Linked DNA regions of Homo sapiens: region 2 is linked to region 1. Evidence: promoter capture Hi-C in human tissues and cell types (Jung and others, 2019). All regions are on one chromosome and are shown on one strand. Each heading gives the region's core, a stretch centred on a gene start or on the middle of the fragment in contact. The rest is flanking DNA. Distances are from core to core; before and after follow the strand shown. Region 1 holds the start of GLYCTK (glycerate kinase). Region 2 overlaps POC1A (POC1 centriolar protein A).

Evidence for each region. The method cuts DNA at HindIII sites, captures the fragments that hold promoters and counts their contacts. A contact is called where the count stands out against the background at its distance.
Region 2: a fragment that was not itself captured here is called in contact with the fragment with the promoter of GLYCTK in region 1 in 1 of the 25 tissues and cell types used here (dorsolateral prefrontal cortex).

The regions. Positions count from the first base shown.
Region 1 is chr3:52,285,512-52,290,042 of GRCh38, reverse strand. It overlaps GLYCTK (glycerate kinase), which reads right to left and starts at 2,215. Exons shown (of 5, transcript NM_145262.4): 1 at 2,167-2,215. GLYCTK-AS1 (GLYCTK antisense RNA 1) reads left to right here and starts at 310. Exons shown (of 1, transcript NR_046719.1): 1 at 310-1,463. LOC107986086 (a long non-coding RNA gene) reads left to right here and starts at 2,023. Exons shown (of 3, transcript XR_001740699.2): 1 at 2,023-2,210. RefSeq lists enhancers at 2,448-2,557, 1,384-2,583, 1,889-2,630. The HindIII fragment of the contact is 16,985 bases long and covers 1-4,531 here.
Region 2 is chr3:52,107,672-52,112,625 of GRCh38, reverse strand. All of the region lies in intron 9 of POC1A (POC1 centriolar protein A), which reads left to right. Among named protein-coding and RNA genes, the nearest start is that of POC1A, 44 kb to the left of the region's middle. The HindIII fragment of the contact is 6,699 bases long and covers 1-4,954 here.

The DNA of each region.
Region 1 (4,531 bases), core at 966-3,465:
GTTCCTATTAGCTGGGCCCTCCTCCCAGGTCACCCCTTTGGCTGGGAGTTAATCATTGACAGAGGGAGTAATTTCTACCAGTGGGCTCCCATCCCACCCCTTTTCCACCCCCTGCACTTCTGCGCTGTTACCCTGGGGCAACGCCCCTTTCTGGCACTCCTTCCTTGCCTCTTTACCACCTCTGCTGCCAGGAAGCTGTTGATTGTCCCACCAACTGACCCTGAGCCCATTGACCTCCAGTCTTCTCTATTTCATTATCTCATGAGACTGGGATTAGGAGCCTGGGAAGTCAGGGTCTATAGGAGGCTGCAGGTTTATCAGGTCAAACCCAGAACACATCCTCAGGGCAAGCAATCTGAGGAATCTCAGTATGCAGGACCAGTTCAGCAAGAGGTTTAGGTTCAAATCAGGAGTGAGGGCAAAGTCTGGCTCATGGTGGAACCTTAGAAAAGTCCCCAGGCACCATGTGAGGCCATGTGCCATGAAGCCCAATTGCAGGACAGAAAAGGATGCCCTTCTACCCACACAGTTGGCCAGACCCAACCCTGCCAAGAACACGCCTTCTGGTTCCAAGATAACAAAAACAAGTCCTAGGTCACACCACCCACAGTGGTGAGAGCCCAAGGGCTGAAGTAGGCAAAGGCCAGGCTCCCATAACTGAGCCCATAGCCATTTTCCCCACTGGGCAGAGTAAAAGCTAAAGAAGCCTTGGGGCGAAGGTCAGGAAGCTGTAGAGGGGTATAGGAACAACAAAGACCCAAACAGCTCATCTGTACTACATATGTACTATTGCATCTACTTTAATAAATGCCTACCATAAATGTTGCAAGCTGACTTCATCAGCAAGTATGGACTGAGCAGGGTAAGGAGGCTGGGAATTGAGGTTCCAGCTCTACTATAGGCTTTCTGAGTGGCTGGGACACCTCCATTTCTCTCACTGGGCCTCATCCGCAAAATGAGACATGGGGTGAGATTAACACTACGCTCTTCCCTTAACAACCTCAGGCTCTCTGATACTGTCCACTGCAACACAGATCTCAAACACCGGTTTACCCCACACCCAAATATGGTGGTTACTTCTAGACTTTGACCATTTTGCTTGCCTAGTTCTCAGCTCTCCGGTAAGAAAAGACAGCCATGCCTGACTTCTGTTGTGAAAGGGAACACAGAGGGCATCGTCATGGGGATTCCGAAAATGGGTCCAGTTTTGGCCAGGGGGACCCCTGGAGCTTGCCCATTGGACTTGGAGCTAAAAGCATCTTAGCAACTAAGACAGCCGGTCTTTATAGCCTGGATGAAATTTGTATCTATTTCCCAGATGGACAAGAGCCTAGAAGATCCCAGCCTTGCCACTGGGTATGAGCACAGGACAGGGGGACGCTCAATGCTAAGGCTGCCAGAGAAAATACAGGACTTCCGGTTAAATTTGAATTTCAAATAAACAAGTAATTTTTAAAGTATAAGTATGTGCATACAATGTTTAGGACTTAACAATTATTCGTCGTTTATCTTAACTCAAATTTAACTGGACGTGGCCCGGCGCAGTGGCTCACGCCTGTAATCCCAGCACTTTGGAAGGCTGAGGCGGGCGCATCACCTGAGGTCAGGAGTTCGAGACCAGCCTGACCAACGTGGTGAAACCCCGTCTCTTCTAAAAATACAAAAATTAGCCGGGTGTGGTGGGCGCCCGTAATCCCAGCTACTCGGGAGACTGAGGCATGAGAATCATTTGAACAGGGGAGGCGGAGGTTGCAGTGAGCCGAGATCGCGCCACTGCACTCCAGCCTGGGTGACAGAGTGAGATTCTAACTCAAAAAAAATGTAACTGGACGCTTTGCATTTTTATTTGCTAAGTCCTCCAATTCTATCCAAGACACGGTCTCTCCGAAACTCCGGGAGGCTCCAGAGCAAAACAACGGAAATAGGAAGACTACCGGTCTTGACTCCTCCCCGCCATCAAAGAAGGCTGGTACCATTTCCGGCTTTCCCTAGACAGTAGGGGGCCGGAAGTGACGTCATCCTAAGGTAGGGCCTTAGCGAGGGAAATGGCTGCCGCGTAATGCCCGGTGATGCGAGAAAGAAGGGCCTGCTGCCACCAGGACCCGTCATCGCCCAGCCCAGGGACCGCTTCTGAAGGCCATGCGAGCCCTGGCGGCGCAGACTTACCAGCCCACAGCTCCGGCCGCGGTGCCCAGCGCTGGAGAACGGAAGTACTAGGGGGTGGGCGGAGCGGAAGCCGGAAGTGTGGGTGGGTGGAGCGGCGCAGGCGGGTGCGAGCTCTGGCTGAAGCCGGTGTCCGGGAGGGGAGAGTTTAGCATATTGGCTCTTTGCTGGCCACTGACAGACCTGGAAGGAGTCACCTTCAGTCCTCATTTTTTAAATCTCTACATTGAGGGTAATAATCCCCGCCTCACCGATTGCCGATTTTTTTTTTGAGACGGGGTCTCATTCTGTCGCCCAGACTGGAGTGCAGAGTCGCGGTTTCGGCCCAATGCAACCTCCGCCTCCCGGATTCAAGCGATTCTCATGCCTCAGCCTCCCGAGTAGCTGGGATTACAGGCATGTGCCACCACTCCGGGCTAATTTTTGTATTTTTTAGTAGAGACGGGCTTTCGCCATGTTGCCCAGGCTGGTCTCGAACGCCTAACCTCAAGCGATCCACCCACCTCAGCCTCCGAAAGTGATGGGATTACAGACTTCAGCCGCCGCACCCGGCCTCTCCCTTCCTTTATCCTGTACGGTCAGTCAGCAGATGCACCCTGAGTGTCAGGCACTGACTGGGCTGAGCAAACGAACTGAGAATCACTACTTCCCCACAACTCACCCCTTCTGGAGCCAGATTAAGTAATTCCCGCTCCTCTCCATGGCTTTTATTCCACAACTTATTATTGTTCTTCCCTCTCCCACCATGGGCCACCAAATACAGCTCTGGCTTAGCAAGAGTTCCATTCTGCGATCCTCAAGCACATAAGCGGCATGTAAACGCTAATGACTCTGGGCCTACCTCGCTGTCCCTACTCTCATCCGGGGCCTACCCTGTGTTGGCTGGATGCCTTCCCACATTCATAAGATGAGTCCTGATCAGACTCCAAAAATACAAAACAGTTCACTGTTTTTACTGATGTTTTCTTAGGGAGATAGAGGAGAGAGTTGCATCACAAATCACACACTTGATTTCCTAACAATTTTATTGAAACATGTTTCTTGGCAGGGCGCAGTGTTTCACGCCTGTAATCCCAACATTGGGGAGGCCAAGGTGGGCGGATCGCTTGAGCCTAGGAATGCGAGACCAGCCTGGGAACATGGCGAAACTTATCTCTACCAAAAAAAAAAGAGCCAGGTGTGGTGGCATGCTCCTGTAGTCCCAGCTACTCAGGAGGCTGAGATGGGAGGATCACCTGAGCCTGGGAGGTAGAGGCTGCAGTGAACCTTGATCACGCCACTGCACTCCAACCTGGGCCCCTGTCTCAAAAAAAAACCAACAAACAAAAACACATTTCTTTCTCTTGGTTTTGAGGTGGAGTCTTGCTCTGTCACCCAGGCTGGACTGCAATGGCACAGTCTCAGCTCACGGCCACTGCACTGCAGCCTGGGCACGATGTCGGCTCACTGCAACCTCCGCCTCCCAGGTTCAAGCAATTCTCCTGCCTCAGCCTCCCGAATAGCTGGGACTACAGGCGCCCGCCACCACGTCCAGCTAATTTTTGTATTTTTAGTAGAGACAGAGTTTCACCATGTTGGCCAGGCTGGTCTCGAACTCCTGACCTTGTGATCCACCGCCCTTGGCCTCCCAAAGTGCAGGGATTACAGGCGTATAAACAATTACAGGCGCCCGGCCTATATAAACAACCTTCATCTTTCCCCATGCTGGAGAACACTAATTGCCACTGCTTGGTGTCTGTGTTTCCCTGGATGGCTGCCCTCACACTTTATGCTTGAATAAATTCTTTTAACTGGATATCGAACCTTTTGATGATTTTTAGGTTGACATTAGAAATGTGTTTTTGGGACAGGTGCAGTGGCTCATGCCTGCAATCCCAGTACTTTGGGAGGCTGAGGCAGGTGGGATCATTTGAGGTCAGGAGTTCGAGACTGGCCTAACCAATATGGTGAAACCCCATCTCTACTAAAAAATACAAAAATTAGCTGGGCATGGGCCGGGCACAGTGGCTCACACCTGTAATCCTAGCACTTTGGGAGGCTGAGGCAGGTGGATCACCTGAGGTCAGGAGTTCAAGACCAGCCTGGCCAACATGGCGAAACCCCGTCTCTACTAAAAATACAAAAATTAGCTAGGCATGGTGGTGTGTGCCTGTAATCCCAGCTACTGGTGGGGCTGAGGCAGGAGGATTGCTTGAACCTGGGAGGTTGCAGTGAACCGAGATTGCGTGACTGCCCTCCAGCCTGGGTGACAAAGCGAGACTCCGTCTCAAAAAAAAAAAAAAAAAAGATTGTTTATATAGGCAAAAACAGGAGTGCTGACCAGAATTACAACATTTTCCAAAAAAAGGCTAACATAAATACAAGATTT
Region 2 (4,954 bases), core at 909-3,408, 180 kb after region 1:
CTGTCACCCAGGCTGGAGTGCAGTGGTGCGATCTCGGCTCACTGCAACCTCTGCCTCCGGAGTTCAAACAATTCTCATGTCTCAGCCTCCCGAATAGCTGGGATTACAGGCATGCACCACCACACCTGGCTAATTTTTTGTACTTTTTTAGTAGAGATGGGGTTTCGCCATGTTGGCCAGCTGGTCTTGAACTCCTGACTTCAGGTGATCCACCCACCTTGGCCTCCCAAAGTGCTGAGATTACAGGTGTGAGCCACCACGCCCAGCCAACCTGAGTTCTAATCTCAGTGTACTGTTTAAAGAAAGCCCAGCCAGGCTTGGTGGCATGCACCTGTAGTCCCAGCTATTCAGGGCTGAGGCGGGAGAATTGCATGAGCCCAGGAGTTCAAGGCTGCAGTGAACTATGATTGCACCACCGCACTTCAGCCTGGGTGACAGCGTGAGACCCTGTCTCAAAAAGAAGGAAAGCAAGAAAGAAAGTCCAGTGCTGCCCCGTGGGCCCTTTAAACCCAAAGGCATCTACCAAGGCTCTGTTTACAACCAGACAGGCAGGCGTGTGGTTTTATTACCAGCTGAGGACATCAGTAGTAAGGAAGATGGGACTTGCTGTGGCTCTGCTGTGAGCCTCTGCCAGCCCTGTTGTTCTGTCCCAGCTTCTGTCCTGCCCCTTAGTACTCCTGCCATTAGTCCAGTCACCTATTCTTGAATCTGTGTTCTCCAGGCCACCTGTCTCCTGTGTTATCCTTGGTGTCTCCCTTGCTGTCTTGATGTCCTGTCTCCCACTTCTCACCCTGCACATGTGGATGCCTAGGCCAGCTCCCATCCTCCAGACAGCCTGCTAGACTTTAGGGAAGCAGATGGGTGAGAGTCTCTGTCTGAGCCAGAGATGGCTTGGGTGTATATGGCTTAACATTTGAACCCCAGATGAAGGTCTTATTTGCAGAGCCTCTTTTTTTTTTTTTTTTTTTTTTTTAATTTTGAGACAGAGTCTAGCCATTCTTGCCTAGGCTGGAATGCAATAGCGCGATCTCGGCTTACTGTAACCTATTCCTTCCAGTTCAAGAGATTCTCCTGCCTCAGCCTCCTGAGTAGCTGGGATTACAGGCACCTGCCACTACACCTGGCTAATTTTTGTATTTTTAGTAGAGACAGGGTTTCACCATGTTGGCCAGGCTTGTCACAAACTCTTGACCTCTGGTGATCTGCCCGCCTTGGCCTCCCAAAGTGTTGGGATTACAGGCATGAGCCACCGTGCCCGGCCTGCAGAGCCTCTTGAAGAGGTGCCTCCAGGTAGCAAGAGCAGAGACAAGCCCTGAAACAGCGATTAGGGTAGAGGTGGCAAGGTTGGAGTGGAAGCCAGAACTCCCTTCTCTGAACTGCCCCCTTGAGGGGCTAATGGTGTTTCCTGTCACTAGAAAAATTTCCATCCATTCTAAAAGCAAGTAGGTTCCTCTCCAGAGGAGAGTTCATGATGTTGAGGAAGGAAGGCCTATTTAATGACTTAAACCAATGGGAGGTGTGTTCTCAGACATCCAGGGAAAAGCATATTAAGACAATCACAGTATCAGGAAGACAGAGCAACCTGACTCAGGAACTCAGACAAAGGCTGGAGGCCCTTGGGTCCAGCTCTGCGTGCATCAGTACACATTTGGCATATAAACCCAGGCACACACACTCCTTTGAGAGCTTCGTTATCTCTTTCGAGAGTTCCAGAACTGTTTTGGGTTTTCCTTTTCCCCTGGCAGCCAAAGCTTGGGCTTAGGGTTATTGGAGCTTCCACATGTGCATGTGGGGAAATGAACCTGAGTCACAGGACAGAAAGTGGAGTCTCAACACTGTGATGCTTTCCTACAAGGCACACATGGCCCCAGGCAGAGCCAGGCTGCATGCCTTGAAGGACCTTTTGCTTCACACACTGGGGCCACTGCTATGACACTGCCTTTTTGCCAATAGTGATGACAGGCAATCTAAAGCCCCATCATCACCTCTCCACAGGAGAGCCCACAGAGGCCACAAGAATCGTCTTGTAACAATTGTTTGCTGCAAAGCAGAGAGGGTGCACAAGAACCGAGGGCTTTGGCATTTAAGGATCTTTCTTCCCTTTTATTTTGTTCTTTTGTTTTCATTCTATTTTTTTAAGCTCAGAAACCTGAAAATGAAATAAATGAGCCACAGGTAGAAATAAACCTGTCGCTTAAGTCTGACTGATTTTTGGGGCCACCATTCACTGCTCCTAGTGTTGTTGCGCTCATCCTTATAGTCTCTTTCCAGATGGCACCTCCTCCATGCAGGCTTCCTTGGGAGGCTGGCAGCTGGTGAGTTCTTCCTGCTCCACCTGCCTGGAGCACTCTCCTACCTGGAGCAGCCCCGCTCTCCTGTTGTCTGTTATTTACAGACCTAACTTTTCTCCCTGGAGGGCTGGGGCCTTGCTCTTGCCATGGTGCTCAGTATGTGTCTGACACATAAAAAATGCTCAGGAAGTCAAAGCATTCTCACGTCTGTGGGCAGCATAAGTTGAGTGTGTGAGGCTAGAGGCGGGCTGTCTTTCCTTTTGGCATTTTTGATGGTCTCAGACTAAAAGAAGGAAGCTACCTTCTGGCCTTATTTGTCAGTTTTGGGGGGCAGATGACATGGGGTGGTGTGGGCAGTGGCAGGGCAACAGAGGGTGGTAGAGTCTGCATGCCTAGATTAGAAGTTTCAGAACTTCTTTTCATTTTAAATGGAAAAAAACCCTTTGTGGTTTATATTTTCCAGATTGGACAGCAGCATTGCCATGTGGTGTAAGGGTGTTGGATAGTGCTTGTGTTTATGTTCTTATTGGTTGCCATGGAAAAAAAATCAGAATAGATGGTTTCCATGGAGATTATCTTACAATTAGTTTCTTTGAAGGTCCGGACATTGCTGCAGGATTCGCTGAGTACTCGTTGCCATCAGGGGCTTTCTCTGTGGCAGTGCTAAAGGCTGGTCAGAACGTTCCGTGGACTTAGACAAAGTCATCTGCCTCCTATGCTTGCAAATCCCAGGACACCAGAGTGGAGGTGATCCTGTGGCTGAGCTTCCTCTTGGAGTCCCACTTGCCTTGGATCAGCTCCGCAGCTCCTTTCAGTCACCAGGAAGGTTTTTTTTTTTGTTTGTTTGTTTTAATTAAACAAAACAAAACAAAACAAAAACCTTTGTATTGTGGAAATTTCAAGCTAGCACAAAAGATAGAATAATGTAACAAACCCCATGTACCACTCACCTAGCTTCAACATTCTGCTAATCTCATTTCATCTGTTTCCCCCACATTTTAAAGAAGAGTTTGAGTGGTTTTAAAAATCCCAGATATATCATTTTTTACTCCAAATAAGGCCATTTCTTAGTTATATAATAGCAGTGCTCTTATCACATCCAATGAAATTAATAGTTCCTTCATATCAGATATCTAGTCCACATTCACATTTTCCCACATTGTGTCATTGTTCAAATAAGGATGCGGAAAGCTTTGAGAAAACCCATGTTCTCTGCTCCCCCTTCCCCGACCCATGGTTCTGGTAGGCGGAGTAGCTGAGGGGGCTTTGGCCTGGAGCTGTCTTGGGCTTGGGGAAGGGGGCGCGTCTGGGCTCACACCACACTCCTGATGTCCTCCAGGAGAGTTTGGTACTGTGAGCTCCTCGCTCCTTCCTGGAGGTGGGTCAGGCACAGGTGGGCTAGCTACTGCCAGCTATCTTGGGCCAGGCATCCGCTGGGGGGCACTGGCTGTCTTTGAAGCCTGCAGGGGGAGGGAAGGGAAGACGTGATGTAACCTTGGTTCATAACAGCTGTCTGCGACTTCATTTTCCAGGAAAGGAGAGGCTGTTTGACCCCATGGGACACAGCCTTCTGCAACTCCTCCCTGGGAATCGTGGGGCTGCTGGTGGAGGGCTCTGGCTGATCTGCTCTGGTGGTTCTGAGGGCTCTGGTGGAGGGCTGCTGCTTTTGCGGGTTGGGTAGAGCCAGTCCTGGTTATCTATCTTGGCAGGCTTTGCTCGTGTCCTGTGATGCTGCACAAAGTATGAATTACGGAGCTTGGGAGTGATGCCTGGGGTGTGGTCGGTGGCTCTAACACTCTCCATTGAACTAAGTGCAAGGAGAGTTTAAAATAGCCAGCCTTTGTTCCGAGGTTTTAAAAATTCAACTCCAGTAGTTACAATGAGCTGTCTTCAAGTGGATCTATAAATAAACCGCTACTGTTCCTCTTTGTCACTGAGAGCTGTGGCGTCTCCCAGAGATGTCGGCTCTGCCGCTCGTCTTCATTAGATGCCTCATCTGTGGGGCAGCTGCAAGTGGAGCTGACACACAGAGTTTGTAATGACAGCAACACATTCCCTTTCAAAAATCCACAGTCCCCAAAAATTAACTACACAGGAAAGATAGTAACTTTGCATTGTAGAAACCTGGCAGAGAGGTCAGTGTCACCATTGATCAAGGTCAACATTCCCTGTAATAAGCCCTTCCATGTGAACCCTGTGTTACTGTGCACATCACTTTTCTGGTGGTGTCCAGTATTTATAACCTGAATCTAATGATAAAACCCAAGTCAGGGAACATTTGATAAAATAACTGATCAATATTCTTCAGAAGTGTCAAGGTCATGAAAGACAAGGGAGGACTAAGGAACTGACACAGATGGGAGGAGGCTAAATACATAATAAATGCATCGGTAGGATTCTGGAACATCAGGATCTAAGCACATTAGTAGAAAAACTGGTAAAGTTCAAATGGGGTCCCTATTTTGGTTATTGGTATTGTCACAGTGTTAGTTTCCTGGTCTGATCATTGTCCTATGGTTGTGTAAGACATTAACACTGGCAGAGGGATATATGGAAATTCTCTGTACTATTTTTTGCAACTTTTCTCCAATTCTAAAATTAGTTCAAAGCAGTTTAATATAAAAGAAATCTACAGTCAGCACTTGGGCTTTATCGGAATCCTT